2 separate regions of the Homo sapiens genome follow, and region 2 is linked to region 1. The links are contacts of gene promoters, found by promoter capture Hi-C in blood cells and fetal thymus (Javierre and others, 2016). All regions are on one chromosome and are shown on one strand. The core of a region is centred on a gene start or on the middle of the fragment in contact, and the rest is flanking DNA. Distances in the headings are between cores, read along the strand shown. Region 1 holds the start of TBX2 (T-box transcription factor 2). Region 2 has its middle 28 kb from the start of NACA2.

What was found. Contacts are between HindIII fragments. The CHiCAGO score rates a contact against its expected background, and 5 or more counts as called.
Region 2: a fragment that was not itself captured here is called in contact with the fragment with the promoter of TBX2 in region 1 in 1 of 17 cell types (M2 macrophages); the score reaches 5.3 in M2 macrophages.

What each region holds. Positions count from the first base shown.
Region 1 is chr17:61,398,361-61,401,337 of GRCh38, forward strand. TBX2 (T-box transcription factor 2) reads left to right here and starts at 1,483. Exons shown (of 7, transcript NM_005994.4): 1 at 1,483-2,211. The coding sequence starts at 1,817. It overlaps TBX2-AS1 (TBX2 antisense RNA 1), which reads right to left and starts at 1,246. Exons shown (of 2, transcript NR_125751.1): 1 at 879-1,246. RefSeq lists promoters at 440-1,700, 1,320-1,567 and a cis regulatory region at 1,556-1,567. The HindIII fragment of the contact is 11,976 bases long and covers 1-2,977 here.
Region 2 is chr17:61,561,705-61,564,681 of GRCh38, forward strand. No RefSeq gene overlaps it. Among named protein-coding and RNA genes, the nearest start is that of NACA2, 28 kb to the right of the region's middle. The HindIII fragment of the contact is 5,695 bases long and covers 1-2,977 here.

The DNA of each region.
Region 1 (2,977 bases), core at 233-2,732:
CCTTCAAACGCTGCTCCCAACGTTCAACAACGAAGTGCCCTGCGACCGGTGTGCGCAGTGGGCGGGCGCCTGCATGGGTCAATGTTGGATGTACGCGCCCACCACGCGGTTGTACGGGTGGGAATGTCACCCGTGGCTAGTGCATGCTCTGTCTTTTCCTTCAGAAAACGACCTTCAGGAATCAGCCTGAGTGTTCGCGCCCGAGCCCGATTGGAAGCAGGTGCGTGGTCGCTTCACTCTCCCCGTGCACACCTTGAGTTATAGCTCTCGCTGCGCACAGAGGGCACCACACGGGGCCCGACACACACACACACACACACACACACACACACACACACACACACACCATCACTTCATGGGGGGGAAACTGAGGCTGCCGGAAGACAGAAAACGAAGACTGATCACAGAAGAGGGGGCTTCAATCACAGGTGCTCGCAGACACCCCAACTCCCTCACGCGTTACTCAGCACTCCTTAACTTAGGAGACGTGCGCTTCCGAGAGATGAGAAGAAACTAAAAAAGTGGTTGGCAGGGCGAAGAGAGGAAGCCGGTATTTCGGAAGAAGGAGACTTTCGTCTCCGGTACCGGATAGGGCGAAAATTCGTTGGGTCGCGGGTGGAGAATCCGGGGTCCGCCCGCGCGGTGCCGCCCTGTGCTCAGCGAAAGGTGCGCTCACCTTCCTGGCCCCGAGGATCCGCTCCTCCCGGCCGCTGGAAAGCTCAGGGCGGGGCCCGGGCCTGCGGAGAACTCCAGGTTCCTTCCGAGTCTTCCGGTGAAGGCGGGCGCGGGTAGGGGGTCCCCGCGTTTCCCCAGCGCAAGGCCGCGTCCCGCTCCCGCCCGCGCCGGCCCCAGCAGGGCTCGGCCATGGCTCCACTCACCAGCTCCCGCCACCTGGGATCCGCTCCCGGACCTCGGCCGCCCGAGCCTCCCGACTCGCCCGCCCACCGGCCTCGCTTTCCAGTGCCTGCTGTCTCTTTCCGGGGCGCAGGGACCCCCAGGCGGCGCCACGACCCGGAGCTGGGTCGGAGGCCAGGCTGGGGCTCGGGCCAGAGCGGCCGGGCCTCTGGGCGCGGGAGAAGGAGGGCGCCCCCTCTCCGCTCGGGGTCGTGTCAATGCTTTGCACTTGGGGCCGGCGTGCGGCTGCGGGTCCTTCCCCAAGGCCCCGGGACCCGGGCTCCCCTCGCCTCAGGCCCTTTCGGCGGGTCAGGTCGGCCCTCCGCGCTCTCCAGTCCGGCGCAGGCAGCCGCAGGCGCGGGCGGGCGGTGGGGGCCGGGGCAGGAGGAGGGGTCTCGGGGCCCGGCGGCCCGTCATTGGTTAATATTTTATTCTGTTGACATGTTTTCTTACTGCTGAGGCTTCCGACACCTTCTCCCAGGCCCCCCCTCCCGGCCGGAGCTTGGCCTGAGCTGTCAAAACCCCGCCCCCGGAGACCCACAATTGGTCCAAAAAGCGTAAAATCAGCAATCAAGGGGGGCCTGGCTCGTTAGCGCAGGGGATCCGAGCTGGGCAGGACATGTGAGATAGTCACAGTTTTCCAGAGATCACGACAAGATCTAACCAGTCGCGCGTGGTCCCCGGCGCCGGAGCGGGCCAGCTCAGCCCGGCCCAGCCCGGCCCCGCGCAGAGCCCCCGCCGCCCCCGCGCACAGAGCCGGGTGCCCCTTGCGGTGCGCCGGACGGGAAGCCCCGAGGAGCAGCTGCTGCGCCCGCCACCCGGGTCGTCCGTCCACCGCGCGCGCCGCCGCCCGGGCCGGGGGTCCGAGCCGCGCGCCCCCGGCCCCGGCCCCGGCCCCCGGGCGCCTGGGCCGGATGTCCCGATGAGAGAGCCGGCGCTGGCGGCCAGCGCCATGGCTTACCACCCGTTCCACGCGCCACGGCCCGCCGACTTCCCCATGTCCGCCTTTCTGGCGGCGGCGCAGCCCTCCTTCTTCCCGGCACTCGCGCTGCCGCCCGGCGCGCTGGCCAAGCCGCTGCCCGACCCGGGCCTGGCGGGGGCGGCGGCCGCGGCGGCGGCGGCGGCAGCAGCGGCCGAGGCGGGGCTGCACGTCTCGGCACTGGGCCCGCACCCGCCCGCCGCGCATCTGCGCTCCCTCAAGAGCCTGGAGCCCGAGGACGAGGTGGAGGACGACCCCAAGGTGACGCTGGAGGCCAAGGAGCTGTGGGACCAGTTCCACAAGCTAGGCACGGAGATGGTCATCACCAAGTCCGGGAGGTAGGGCTGCCGGCCGGCTGGAAGGCGCGCGGGCGGGCGGGCGGGCTGGGGCACGGGACTGCACGGATCAGAGCAGAGCTGGGGACTCCCGGCTCCCGGCTCCCGGCTCCAGGTTCTGGCCCTGACGCCACGCTTCGCTCCCACGGACAACCAAGTTGACTTTTCTCGTTTGGCACCGGAGCGATTTTTTTTTAAAACAAAAACGCTAAAATCCTCCGAATGAAATAAAACGAAAACATACTGCTAAAGAATAGCCCCAACCGTTCTGAGTCCCAGCGCAGAGGAGGCCCCGCGGCTTGGCCCTGGCGGTCTCCTCCGCCCCGCGCTCTCGCTCTTCTGCGTCCGGGTCCGTCTCCGAGCTCGGGGGAAATTCAGCCTCTCTCAGACTCTGCTCCGACCCCGAAGCCCCTAGTGGGACCTGGGCCCAGCTAACCCCACGCTGGTTGCTCGGTTCCTGGCAGCGAGCCCCGGGTCAGCCGAGCCCTCCGCCTCACCGGGCTGGGAGCCCTTTCTCCACCGCGGGCATCCGAGCCCTGGACGCATCCGCCGCCCCAGGCCTTAAAGCCTGAAGAAAGCCACAGCCCCGGCCCCTCCACCCTTCGACTCAGCCACCGAGAATCCAGGCCTCGGGTTCACCCTCTTCCCCCGAACTGCACGGCCAGGATGTCTTATCAGGCTCTGTAGCCCAGTTCCCAATACAAACACCCTCCAGATTTATTTCTGGGAGCTTCCGTCCCAAGTGGGTATTTCCCCTGAACGAATTTCG
Region 2 (2,977 bases), core at 229-2,728, 160 kb after region 1:
GCACACAGCAAGCTGTTAGGTAAACATGCCAGATTATGCCAAGTACATAGCTGCTAAGGACACAATTATCCTGCAGTTCCCTCATTTAGCATTTTTGCTGTTAGAAGATATAAGCCCATCCATCTGAGTAATGCTAAAACAGGTGGTCTGTTCTAAGGACCTTTGGAGAAGACGGTTCTGGAAGGGTGGGAAAGAACCCTTGGGTCTTTTTTTCAGTCCCTTTACATTTCCCGTGTTCCACAAAGGTCAAACTACTTTTATAAAAGGAAATTAAATGTTACAAACCAGCACTAAAATGAAATCACTCTATTTTCTCACCTAACCTCCCCACAGTCAGGACGTTTGGAACTCATATCTCCCTATTTCCGCTAAGCTGTGGTTCCCAATTTAAGACTTTAAAAAATATCTCTGGCTGTAATTCGCATGCTGTAATTCTTCAGAAGAGGATGTAATTCTGGAATTTCTTATTTAAAAAGTAATGAATTAATAAGAAACTGGATGCTTCAACTTCTAAATCACAATCAATTTTTTCATTGGTTTCTTATACTGATTACAGCATTCATATATGTACACATGTACCTTCAGTATATGTGTGTGCTTCTATTGTTAAACCCATGCGTATTAAGGAGGCTACCAGGTTATTTATAGGTGCCAATCCTGAACGTCCTCACTTGCATGACAGGTATATTTTGCTTTGTAACACTTTCCTTTGGTTCCAACTGGAATAAACCCACTTTGTGTTTGCTTGTTTGTTTGTTTGTTTGTTTGTTTTTGCGGTGGGAGGAGTTGTTTCTCTCTCCCTCTCTCTCTTTGAGACAGGTCTTGCAGTGTTGCCCAGGCTGAAGTACAGGGGTGCAATGATAAGTTACTGCAGCCTCGTTCTCCCAGCCTCAAGTGAGCCTTTCTACCTCAGCCTCCTGAGTAGCTGGGACCACAGGCACATGCCACCATGCCCAGCTGATGATTTACTTTTTGTAAAAATGGGGTCTCCCTATGTTGTCCAGGCTGTTCTTGAACTTCTGGGGTCAAATGATCCTCCTGCCTCGGCTTCCCAAAGTGCTGAGATTACAGTTGTGAGCTACCATCCCCAGCCAATAAACCCGCTTTGATTAAGGCAAATATAGTTTCAGACACAAGCGATGTAAGTGGGAAGGTTTTCGTGACAAAATTCACCTCTAGTGAGGACACACAGACAATATTTGTTTGTTTGTTTGTTTGTTTGTTTTGAGACGGAGTCTTGCTCTGTCACCCAGGCTGGAGTGCTGTGGCACAATCTCGGCTCACTGCAACTTCCACCTCCCAGGTTCAAGGGATTCTCCTGCCTCAGCCTCCTGAGTAGCTGGGATTACAGGTGCCCACCACCACGCCTGGCTAATTTTTGTGTTTTTAGTAGAGACAGGGTTTCATCACGTTGGCCAGGCTGGTCTCGAACTCTTGACGTCACGATCCGCCCGCCTCGGCCTCCCAAAGTGCTGGGATTACAGGCATGAGCCACTGTGCCTGGCCACAATATGTATGGTAATATTTGAGAGGCAGCATAGCATCATGGTTAGGTTTGTAGAAAAATTGTGCAGAGTCCCGAATACCACTTGCCTCAGGTGCACAAAGTTTCTCCTATTATTAACATTTTGCACCCAGTGTGATACATTGTTACAACTGATGAATCAATATTGACCAATTATTATCAAAATTCATAGTTTGCATTAGGGCTCACTCTTTCTGTTGTACAATTCTCTGGGTTTTGACAAATGCGTAGTGTCATGCATTTACCATTACAGTATCACACACAATAGATTAACTGCCCTAAACATCCTCTGTGTTCCATCTGTGAACCCCTTCCTCCTTCCAGCGAAACCAATGATCTTTTTACCATCTTACAGTTTTGCCTTCCCAGATGTGATATAGTTAGAATCATACAGCTGGCTGAATCATACATTCAGCTGGCTTTTTTCACTTAGCAATACGCATTTAAGATACCTCCAAGTCTTTTGGTGGCTTGATAGCTCTTTTTTTTTCTTTTTTAACAGAGTTTGTTTTTTACAGTAGTTTTAGTTTCACCGTAAGATTGAGTGGAAGATACGTATATCTCCTGGTTCTTTTTCAGTAATTGCTGAATAATATTCCTCTGTATGGATGTACCAGTTTATCCATTCACCCTTTGAAAGTCTTGCTTACTTTCAATTTTTGGCACTTATGAATAATGCTGCTATAAACATTCAGAGCATTGTTGCGTGCACATGCAAAATACTTAGAAGAATACTTGTGCTATAGCAGTACTATGAGCCATTACCTTATTTTAAAGATGAAAAAAGGCCGAGCATGGTGGCTCATGCCTGTAATCCCAGCACTTTGGGAGGCCAAGGCGGGTGGATCACCTGAGGTCAGGAGTTCAAAACCAGCCTGGCCAACATGGTAAAACCCCATCTCTACTAAAATACAAAAATTAGCTGGGCATGGTGGTGGGTGCCTGTAATCCTAGCTACTCAGGAGGCTGAGGCAGGAGGAGAATTGCTTGAACCCGGGAGGCAGAGGTTGCAGTGAGCCAAGATTGCATCACTGCACTCTAGCCCGGGTGACAGAGTGAGACTCCATCTAAAAAGAAAGAAAGAAAAAAAAGATTTAAAAAACAGTTTCAAAGATTTGCCCAATGGCACTCTGCTAAAAAGTAGTAAAGTTGTAAACAGGAAAATATACCTACTGAACTATATATGTTTACTTAAAAAGACCTACCAATACATGCATTCTGTTCAGCTCCACTGATGATACAAAAATGAAGATATGTCCTCTATATATACATGCATAATCTCAATATAATATGCTGAATAGAGAGTTTTTTTGGAGACAGAGTCTCACTCTTGTTGCCCAGGCTGGAGTGCAATGGCACGATCTCGGCTCACTGCAACCTCCGCCCTCCCAGATTCAAGTGATTCTCCTGCCTCAGCCTCCTGAGTAGCTGGGATTACAGGTGCCCGCCACC